Linked DNA regions of Homo sapiens: region 1 is linked to region 2. Evidence: promoter capture Hi-C in 16 types of primary human blood cells and fetal thymus (Javierre and others, 2016). All regions are on one chromosome and are shown on one strand. Each heading gives the region's core, a stretch centred on a gene start or on the middle of the fragment in contact. The rest is flanking DNA. Distances are from core to core; before and after follow the strand shown. Region 1 overlaps TANC2 (tetratricopeptide repeat, ankyrin repeat and coiled-coil containing 2). Region 2 holds the start of ACE (angiotensin I converting enzyme).

What was found. Contacts are between HindIII fragments. The CHiCAGO score rates a contact against its expected background, and 5 or more counts as called.
Region 1: a contact is called between a fragment that was not itself captured here and the fragment with the promoter of ACE in region 2, in 1 of 17 cell types (naive B cells). The highest score is 5.6, in naive B cells.

What each region holds. Positions count from the first base shown.
Region 1 is chr17:63,067,124-63,073,776 of GRCh38, forward strand. The region is part of intron 2 of TANC2 (tetratricopeptide repeat, ankyrin repeat and coiled-coil containing 2); the gene reads left to right. Among named protein-coding and RNA genes, the nearest start is that of TANC2, 100 kb to the left of the region's middle. The HindIII fragment of the contact is 1,695 bases long and covers 4,053-5,747 here.
Region 2 is chr17:63,474,447-63,478,575 of GRCh38, forward strand. ACE (angiotensin I converting enzyme) reads left to right here and starts at 2,615. Exons shown (of 25, transcript NM_000789.4): 1 at 2,615-2,897; 2 at 3,485-3,652. The coding sequence starts at 2,649. RefSeq lists silencers at 2,875-2,964, 3,065-3,124. The HindIII fragment of the contact is 10,215 bases long and covers 1-4,129 here.

The DNA of each region.
Region 1 (6,653 bases), core at 3,650-6,149, 410 kb before region 2:
GACTTGGAGTTTCATAACTCAAAACATTCATAATGTCCGGATGCAACCAAAATTATATACAAAGATTGACATACAAATTACATATGAAATTGATACAGAAAGAACTAGGAAAATAGCAATTTGCAAGGGAAAAGACAACAGATACCAACTCCAAGAGATGACCAAGATATTGGAATTATCTGACAAAGATTTTAATGCAACTATTATAAAAATGCTTCTCTTTGGGGTGAAATAATGAAGGAAACCTTTTATTGTTACTATAACAATTGATGCCTCTCTTCTGAAGTGTAACATATTTCAGCCTGAAAAGTCTTAAATTTTTATCTCTCATGTATGAAATTAAATCAACACCCTATTTTTTATTTTATTAAAAATAATAATAAATAAATTCCCAATGGGAAAAAAATTAAAAAATACTCCAACAAGCAATCATGTGAACCTTCTTGAAATGAAAGGAAAAATAAAGTCTTAAGAAAGAAATAGGAGATATATAAAGAAGAACCTAATGAAAATTTTAGAAATACTAAATATAAAGACCCAAACAAGAAGCAAACTTGATGGGTTCAGTAGCATAATGGAAGTGACTGCAGAAGGAGTTAGTGAACTTGAAGACAGATCCATAGAAATTATCCAAATCTAAACAATAGAGAGAAAAGCAGGGGATGGCGGGGAAGAGAACCACAGGGATCTGTAGGATAATAACAGAAGATCTAGATTCATAACATTGGAGTTCCAGAAAAAGAGAAGGAAAAATGTGGTGTTAAAATAATATTTGAAGAACTTATAGCTGGGAATTTGTCAAATTTGGTAAACAGCACAAGTTTACAGATTCAGGAAGCTGACTGAATCCTTAATAGGATAAATGCAAAGAAATTCATACTCTATCACTATGTGATCAATCTGCTGAAGACTAAAGATGAAGAAAAAGTCTTGAAAGCAGCCCGAGAGAAATAACACATTACCTAGAGGGGAACAACAATTTGAATGACTGTAGATTTCTCATCAGAAAACGTGCAGATCAGAAAGTTGTGGCAAAAATAGGCAGAGGATATAAACAAGAATATACACACACCAAATGGCCAGTAAAACATATGCTCAGCTTCATTATTAATGAGGGAAAGGCAAATTAAACAAGAATCAGATACCAATTCGCGTTGTTTAGCAGAAATGAAAAAAACCTGAGTAGTATTCGTGAGATTGTGAGGAAATGGGAACATTAACTTTTTGTGGAAATAAAAATTAACGCAACTGTCTTTGGCAGAAATTTGGTTGCTCTTATGGAGTTTTTGCATTATATTATTTAGTAGTTTCGCTTCTATATCTTGAACATGTGCACAAGGAGCTTATATACAAGCAGATTAGACATGTGCTATAGGAAATGGTTCATTGCAGACTTCCTTTTGAAGTACTATAAATTTGGAGACTATCTAAATCTTCATTAGTAAGAGAATAGATACAATTGATATATTCATACAGTGGAATACTAGAGTTAAAATGAATTCGACAGATAAATTTCAAAACATAAGTATTAAGTAAAAATGGCACATTGCTGGATGATATAGTTTCATTACACTTACATAGTATAAACATTTGTGGAGGCATATATATGTAATAAAAGTATAAAAACATGCATGTTTTTATTCTAGAGTTAAAATGAATTCTAGAGTTAAAATGAACGTCCACACAGATAAATTTCAAAACATAAGTATTAAGTAAAAATGGCACATTGCTGGATGATATAGTATCATTACACTTACGTAATATAAACATTTGTGGAGGCATATATATGTAATAAAAGTATAAAAACATGCTTGTGATTTTACATATTAAGATATAGCGGTTAATTTGGGGAGGGATGGAAGAAGGGAAACTGTATTGGAGAACTGTATAATGAAAATATCAGCTGTGTACAACTGGTAGTGTTTTAGTTTAAAACAAATTGATGTAAATATGGGAAATCTTAAGATTTGGTGAAGTTTGATAGTTGCTATATCAGTGTGAGTTATATTTTTCACCGTATTTTCTATATATTAAATTTATTTACAATAAGATAATTAACTTATTTGTATATAATTTTGATAATTATGATTGTTATGAACATTTACATTATGAACATATTTCTCAGCTATTGGCACTGTTGAAATCTGAGGCCTGATAATTCTTTGTGGTGGTAGGCAGTCCTGTGAATTCTAGAATATTTAGCAGCATCCCTAGCCTCTGCCCTTTAGAAATGAGTAGCACTCTTCCAATTGTAACAACCAAAAATGTCCCTAGAAGTCCGTGGTTTGCTCCTGGTTGAAAATCACCAATTTAGAGACTACAAAGTGCTGTCACATGTGTTAGCTCATTTGAACCTCACAACAGCCTTCAGAAGAAGATGTTACTTTGACCTCAGTTTTACAGATGAAAACACTGAGACTCAGAGAAATCATCTAAAAATGACAGATATGGAACTAAAACTCAGGTCTTATTATGCCCACATACTGACTTTTTGTTCATTTGTATGTACATGAGTATATATTCCCACACATTTCCTGGTAACCTTACTAAAAGTAGAATACAAATTAAACATTCTAAAAAGTTTCTTATTTTTGTATTTCATTCACAGGCATATTATTTCATATCTCCTCTAGTAATTTGTTGATGTCTGTCTCAGGCATCTTAGTGATTACTGGGTTCCATTGTGCTTTTTTCATGAAAACTTCTTATAAATAATTACAAATTAAATAAAAGGAGTAGGTCCTCTACAGAGGACTGTTGTATTCTTCTGTTTTGCCTGGGTCTGTCTTTTTTGACATGCCATATTTTCATTCTGCATTTGGAGAAAATAGGTTACCAATAGAAACTTTTGCTGGGCTGCTTTTATTTCCTTATTAACTATCATGAAGTGTTTATGTAAAATACTTGTTTACAGAAATTTTTATAAATGGATTTTCATATTCAAAATATAATTTTGGTTTCAAACCCAAGTATCAAATTCAGACTGTAGAAATTATGTACACATTAGTTTTTCATGAAAATAGGAAATGATATTACCACATAATCTAGATATTGTGGTTTTCAACAATGTTTATTTAGAATAAAAACCATAAACTTAAGGGGAAAAAAAATCTCTTTCACAGTGCATTGTGCACTTTTAGTCACCTCGCAAGAGCCTTTCTTGGGCACAGAGAAGATTGAGATGTAACATGTAATTAAGCAGTCAGGTATTCCATTCATTTGGGGTGGTTTTTTGGGAATTTTACATTTTACTCACTAAAGGATCACCTAGAGAGAGCCAAGAAAAGGGTCCTTGAGCCCATGCAGCCATTAAACTTTCAATGGCCCCTAGGCCGGACATCATTTGCAGAGCCGCCTTCTCATCCTTACTGGCCTTACTCTCAAGTCATTCAACTCATTCCTTTTCACAGAGATTGCTCTAATTAGCCTTCTAAACTAATCTCCCTGCCTTTAGATCAGGGGTCATTTCCCACTGGCCAAATCTAGGTCACTCCTAGTTTTTGTAGGGCCCATAATCTAAGAATGGTTTTTATATTTGTAAATGGTTAAAAAAAATTAAAAGGATAATAATATTTTGTGACATATAAATTATATGAAATGAAAATTTTAGTGTCCATAAAGAAAATTTTATTAGAGTAGAACCACATGTGTTTGTTCATCCAGTATCGAAAACCACCACCCTAGTCTCTACACTACTATAAGGGGTATCTTTTTAAAATGCAAATTATTCTAGGTAAATGTGTTTAAAGATTTTTTTAAAAAACATTAAGCAGGTCAGGGTTCTTAGTTGTTTCTCACAATGTAATTTCTATGACAGCACATGCAGGTTAACATTGTGCCTCACTATAGGTGAGTTAAAAATGTTTCCATCTCAAGTGGTTGATTTGATAAGAGTAATTCATATATCAGTGTCATGAGCATTGACCTTTTCACTAAAAAGAAAATGTATCGTATTTTCACACTGTAAGCATTTAGAAAGAACTACTTTTACTTACTTCTTTTCTTGTTAGAGCAGCTTTTTTCTTGAATTCCTTGTAAAGCATGTATACCTAAGCTTGCTGTGATAGATTTCATAGATGTGGGGAATAGATGCATGATAGGGACTTTAGTTACCTAAGCATGGGTATACAGAATGTCAGGTGCCAAATTTTCTTAATAGAGTGTAGAATTTTTTTTTTTAAAGAGTCAAGGTCTCCCCTTGTCACCTAATTGGAGTGTGGTGGTGTGATCATAGCATAGCTCATTGTAACCTCAAATTCCTGGCCTCAAGCGATCCTCCCACCTTGGGCTCCCAAAGTGCTGGGATTACAGGTGTGAATCATTTTGCTCAGCCCTAGAATTTCTTAAATAGTGGTCTTCATTAGAAAGGAGCAGTAATATAGACCTGGAGAGGGAGGGTTATAGGGTTGGCAGTGTACCAGAATTCCTACTGAGGTACTTTATTTTGGTTGTGGCCAGTTGATTGTCAAGAGAAGCTCTCTTTTAGTAGAATGAATAGACAGAGACACCAAACATGGCTTTTGGGAAAAACATTTTTTTTTCTTTAGAGAATATATCTTTTGATTTTATATTGGAAGCACATAGGAAGGTTATATTGTAAGACTAAGTCTTCATAACCTGCTTTGTTAGAATGCCTCTATTCTGTAAAGGAATAATTGCTATAGTTACTGATTAGTGCTTTTTTAACATCGTTTTTATGAGAAAAGAATAAAACGGGAACATGAATTGAACTCAAAATATTTAATAAATTTGGGTAGAAATTAGTATCAGAGAGATGTATTGAGTCAAACATCCTTGGGTTAAAATCCAGTTTCATTTTTACTGGTTTTGTCATTGGATTTCAGTTAGTCACCATGAGTTTCAGTGTTCTCAGCTGTGAAATAGGTCTTTACTTCATAGGGCTTTGATGAACTATGTAAAATACCTGGCAGAGAGTACATAGTAATTATTGGCTGCCTTTCTGTTCTTAAATACATTTTAGAAAGAAGAGAAAACTTTAGGATTTTTGGACATATTGAATATTAATTCACAAGAGAGTGAGGTAGAAGGAATCCTAGAGGGTTTAAAACTTAGAAATTAAATTTGAGTTGGCCCAGTTGAAATACTGAGCCTTATTAAAAAGAATCCATATTTATAGAGTTGTTTACTTAGAATTTGATATACAGTTAAGAAGGATTGTAAATGTTCACATTTCCTTTAAAAGGACAAAATTAAAGAATTTAAGTTTTAATTTCAACAGAGGCAGATCAGCCATTCAGAGATGATAATCCATGAGTAGATTTTTGCTTTAATTTTTAAAAATAATGTCAAAGAAAAATTTCTTATATTTGTCTTTCAGATAACACCTTATTTTGTCAACATGTCTATTTTTATTCAAATGTGGTAACTTATATAGTAACAGCAGAACTAAAATAAACTGATTTATATTTAAAAAGTATTTTCATACTGGAGGAAAAAATATGGTTGCCTATCACTTTGAGTATCTTTCTATGTGATAAGTTATTTTACAAATCTGACTAAATTAGTGGAGTGTTTTACTAGATTACTGTGGACTAAGAGATATGAATATTTCCTGGCAATGTACTTATTATTTTGTATTGTCGTCGTATATTTGGAATCGATTGATTAAATGTTACTGTACTTGCTAGTTTAACAGCCCTCTACAAAATAGAGAATAGTTGATATATATACATGAATTGGATTTAATTATTGCTAGGCCTTACATATAATAAATATACTTAAAAGGAAGCTTTATATCAATAATGAATTAAAAAACAGGCCATTCTGTTTAAAAAGCAATAGATGTTACTACACGAGCTCTATTAAAAACAATAAACCATAGAATAAGTAGATGACAGAGCAAGAATACTCTTTATTAAACCTGCTTGCAGCTACTACCCCTTTTCCCTGTCAAGTTAAAAATAAGACAAGTGATTGTATGAAAGAACGAACAAAGGAAATTGTTTGATGCCTTAATGCATTTTTCATCTGATTAAAGTGATAACAAATTTATAGGTGTATAGACCACTATGTTAAAGATTTTGCTTGGTTTAGTTTCATATTTTATATTATACTTTACATTCTTAATATATTAATTTCTGTTTTACTGTGCCTATTTTAATGAATTTATGATGCATAATTTTTCTGTTTCTATATAACAAAATTGAGGCAATTATTTACAATAAAGTAAAATTTGTTTTAGCTTTTCTTAACATGCATGAGGGAATATACTGTTTTGGTTATTTCTTAAAAGAAGATGTATACAATGAAATGGATTTGTTTCTATATAATTTTAAAAATCATGGTAAAATAAACTCAAGATTTATTTGGTTTTTAGCTTTTATTGATTTATTTTATAGGTTTATTGATTTTTATTTCATAAAACATACGAATGTAATTCTTATTATAGTAAAACAGTACTAGGGATTATTTGATGTGCTGTTGTACTTTAGACAGAAAAAGCAGCTGTAATTAATTTAAAAGATTGTTTTAAATCAGGCCTTCTTAACTGGAATTCTGTGACTGAACTTTGGTGTTGATAACTTTCCTTCATTATATGCAAAGTAGAGTATATACATATGGGGGAGGGGAAAAACACCTACACTTTCTTAAGACTTCAAGAGGGGAGTGTAAACCCACAAAAATCAGGGTAA
Region 2 (4,129 bases), core at 1,365-3,864:
TTATCTCTTTCCTACCTTTCAAGGTTATTGTAAATACCAAATTAGATTGTTTATACACAAGAATTTAGCACTAAAGCACTATACAAATGTAAGCTATTTATTTCTATTTATCCTTCTCCTTCATGAATAAGACCCTAAAAATAGAAGATATTTTTAATTTTTACTCACTGGGCTCAAGGTTGCAGTGTCTGTATTATTGCAAATTCCAAATTAATGAAGTCTGGCTCTTCTTATATTATTCCTGCAAAAGGCTGTGTGCTCACCCCCCGGAGTGTGAATACGAGTGTGGGTCATTTCCTCTTTCCTCTGCACCCTTCCTTCGATGAGGTTTTGCCCTGTGCTAGGCACCATGCTAAACTCTGAGAAAACCACAGAGAACAAGGCAGACGCCATCCCTGCCCTCCAGTAACATACAATTTAGTGATGAAGCTGGGGGATTTAACAAGCCATTCTAATAAAGCGTTACAGTGAGGGAGGTGCAGGGTGATGCCTCCAGCAGCCCTGGTGTCAGCTGCTCCAGGTCCAGGGGAAGACTTCCATTATCTTCCAACCCTGTCGGAAGTGGAGGCGGAGGCTGTTTATTGCTGACACAGTCCCTAACCCAGGGTCTATAGACATTGTGGAAATGCCTTGGAGTCAGACGGGAGAATGAACCAGCAGAAGCAATGCCCGCCCTCCACCCTCCTGAAGAGGGTTCTCAGGAACTCTTTGGAGGCGAGGCCAGCCTCTGGCTGAGGGCCTCTGGATACAGGTTAGGCCTCAGGCTCTTCTCCTCTCTACTCATCTCTCCTCCCTTGGCCCCTCCTTCAGAGGCTGACAGAGCCCCACTCTCATCTCTTCCCCACCCAAGCCTCTTTCCACAGAAAGACTGCTTCCTCCCAGGAGACAGCAGCTCATTTGCACACAGACACCCACAGCCCTCAAAGCCTGGAAGGCCAAGCTGTTAGGACCCCTGAGAGCAGGGTGGCTCCTGGGAGGAGAGCCCAGGCCACCACCTTGCCCTCCCTGGCCCCTGGCCTTCGATGGGGCTGCTCTGATCACAAACGTCCACCAACGTAGCCGGCCCAGAAGTGCACCCATGTCCTCTGGTATCCACTGGCTCTCCAAGCCAAACTGGGCAGGGAGGAGTTGTGAGGGAAAACTGCAGGTCAGGAGGGAGGCTGGCAAAGCGGGCCAGGGCCAGGCCTGACCCCAGCTCTCCTCTCCCGGCCCCACTGCCGGCCAGTGTTTAACAAGGCCCTGCCTTCTCCCTCTAGTGCTAGGGACAGCCACCTTCTTCCTCTCCCCACCGCCCCCTCTCCCCTGCAACACGTCATCTGACAAGTCAGTGCGATCTCACTGGAGGTGCATCTCACAGGAACGCGGGGTCACAGCCTCCTGCACACACTCCATGCTGCACAGCAAGGTGCACGTGTCCCTCAGAGCCCCAGACACCATCCCCCACTCACCCAGAAGCCCAAGTGATTCCCAACAGCCCCCAGCAGCCTAATGGGTTGGGGTCTTGGGAGCAGCTGTCCCTGGCTCCTTCCCTGATCCCACCGCCCAGCCTCACCCCACGGTTCCTCCATTGCCCCACCTCCCACTGCGCCGCCGGGCCTCTGCCAGGGTCAAGGGGCTTCCCCCCTCTGGCAGCAGACGCCATGGTGCCGAGGTGGCCTCCACAACCGCCCTGTGCGCCAATAGGACAAGACTGTCCTCCCTCCCCCACACTTGTCACTTTGAGGGACACGTGGATGAGACAGGAAAACACAGGGGAGTGTGGAGACCTGAGGTGACTTGGAGCAAGCCTCTCAACCTGAGCGGCAATTTCTTCATCTGTAAAATGAGGGGGTTGTTCTCATCTCTGAGGCTTTGTGTCGCTCTCAAAGCCTGCTAGCCTCGGGTTCTAGGACTCTGTTGGGATCGTGTGTGATGTTTTCTGCTGAGCGACTGGCAGCCTGTGTCCTCGGGGGGAAAGAGGGCAGGCGCTCCAAAGCTCCTGCGCTCTGTGGCTCCCCCTCCCTCGCAGCCCCAAGCCCCAGGTGTGCCGGCCGCCCTGAGCCCCTCCAGCACCTCCCGGAGGCGCCTGCAAGACACCTAAGGTCCCCGCCTCCCTCCTCTCCCCCCCGCCACACCCCTACCCCCGGCAGGCGACGTCCCCGCCCCTCGACCATGGCCTGGTGAAGAAGCCGGCCAGGCCCGATCAGCCCCATCCCCGCCGCACGAGCGGCGCCTGCGGACAGCTCCTGGGGCCCCGGCCTTGTCACTCCGGAGGCGGGAGGCTCCGGGGGGTCGGGCTGGGAAGATCGAGCCGGAGGCCGCTAGGCTCCCAGGCCCCGGCCGAGGCTGCGCGGCCGCACGGTGGGCAGGCTCGGGTGTTCCGGCAAACTGCCGGGTCCCCATCTTCTAAAGAGAGGAGGCCCTTTCTCCAGCTTCCTCTGCGGGAGCCCGACCCAGCCCCATCCCGCCACCCCCGGGCTGCACCTCGGCCCCTCCCCGGCCCGCGCCCCTGCCCGGGGCGGGCCAGGAACCTCGGCCCGCGCCGCTGGGGACTCTGGAGCGGAGGAGGAAGCGCGGCGGGGCGGGGGCGGGGGTGTGTCGGGTTTTATAACCCGCAGGGCGGCCGCGGCGCAGGAGAAGGGGCAGAGCCGAGCACCGCGCACCGCGTCATGGGGGCCGCCTCGGGCCGCCGGGGGCCGGGGCTGCTGCTGCCGCTGCCGCTGCTGTTGCTGCTGCCGCCGCAGCCCGCCCTGGCGTTGGACCCCGGGCTGCAGCCCGGCAACTTTTCTGCTGACGAGGCCGGGGCGCAGCTCTTCGCGCAGAGCTACAACTCCAGCGCCGAACAGGTGCTGTTCCAGAGCGTGGCCGCCAGCTGGGCGCACGACACCAACATCACCGCGGAGAATGCAAGGCGCCAGGTGGGCGCCCGGGCCCGGGCGGGGGCGGGGCGGGGCCGCGGCGGCCAATCACAGCACGCGGCCGGCTTGTGGGGCGGGCAGGCTGGCGCCCCCGACCCGAACCCCACCCCGACCCCGGACCCTCGCCCCGACAGTCAGCCGCGGGGCCCGAGCGCCGGGCTGCGCGCACGGCCTGCGCTCCCAGCATGCACGAGTTGGATGGATGAGGGTGGCTGCTCCCAGGCCGCGCCCGCCTTCGCCGAAGGTGCTGGGCTTGGCTCTGGGGCCCCCGCGCTCTCGGGCAGCTGCCTTCTCACCTCCGGACGCTGTCGCTGTCACCGTCACCGCACTGCACTGTCCATCCACCCTCCACTCGCCCGGCCTCTTTTCTGGTCCCAATTTCTGCTCCACCATTCCCATGAGGCAGATTCCCTCCAGAAGGAGGAAGCGCGGCTTCCGCAAACTAAGGTCTCCCGCAGGGATCTCCCCAGGGCCCGGGCTCTGGAAGCCCTTGGCCTTCCTCCCCTCCCCCAGCACCGTGGCTTCTCCTTTATGGCCTGCATCTAAGCAGGGTCCTACACCCTCCCTGCCCTCCTGGTGCCCAATAGGAGGAAGCAGCCCTGCTCAGCCAGGAGTTTGCGGAGGCCTGGGGCCAGAAGGCCAAGGAGCTGTATGAACCGATCTGGCAGAACTTCACGGACCCGCAGCTGCGCAGGATCATCGGAGCTGTGCGCACCCTGGGCTCTGCCAACCTGCCCCTGGCTAAGCGGCAGCAGGTGGGCTGAGGGCTGAGGCAGAGCTCGGGGGCGGCCTCCTAGTGCCCCATCGTGGGGGTCGGGGGAGAGCAGCCCATCAGGGAGGGAGGAACCCTGGGATCCACATGGGCCCTGACAGAAGGGAAAGCCCAGGTAAGCACAGAATGGCTTTCTGAGCATTGATTTTTCTTGGAGATGGGGTGGGGAGTTACTTTCTGTTAAAGGAAGCATTCTGGAGTAGGAAGCCAAATTCAAATACACTTCTCCCTAGGCTGGTTTATGAGCTTCTTTGGAAGAGTTGAGAAGGGCTGGGCGTGGTGGCTCAAGCCTGTAATCCCAGCACTTTGGGAGGCTGAGGTGGGCGCATCGCTTGAGCCCAGGAGTTCAAGACCAGCCTGGCCAACATGGCAAAACCTCGTCTCTACAAAAAAAAAATAGCTGGGCTTGGTGGTGCGTGCACCTACAGTCCCAGCTACTCTTGAAACTGAGGGGGAAGGA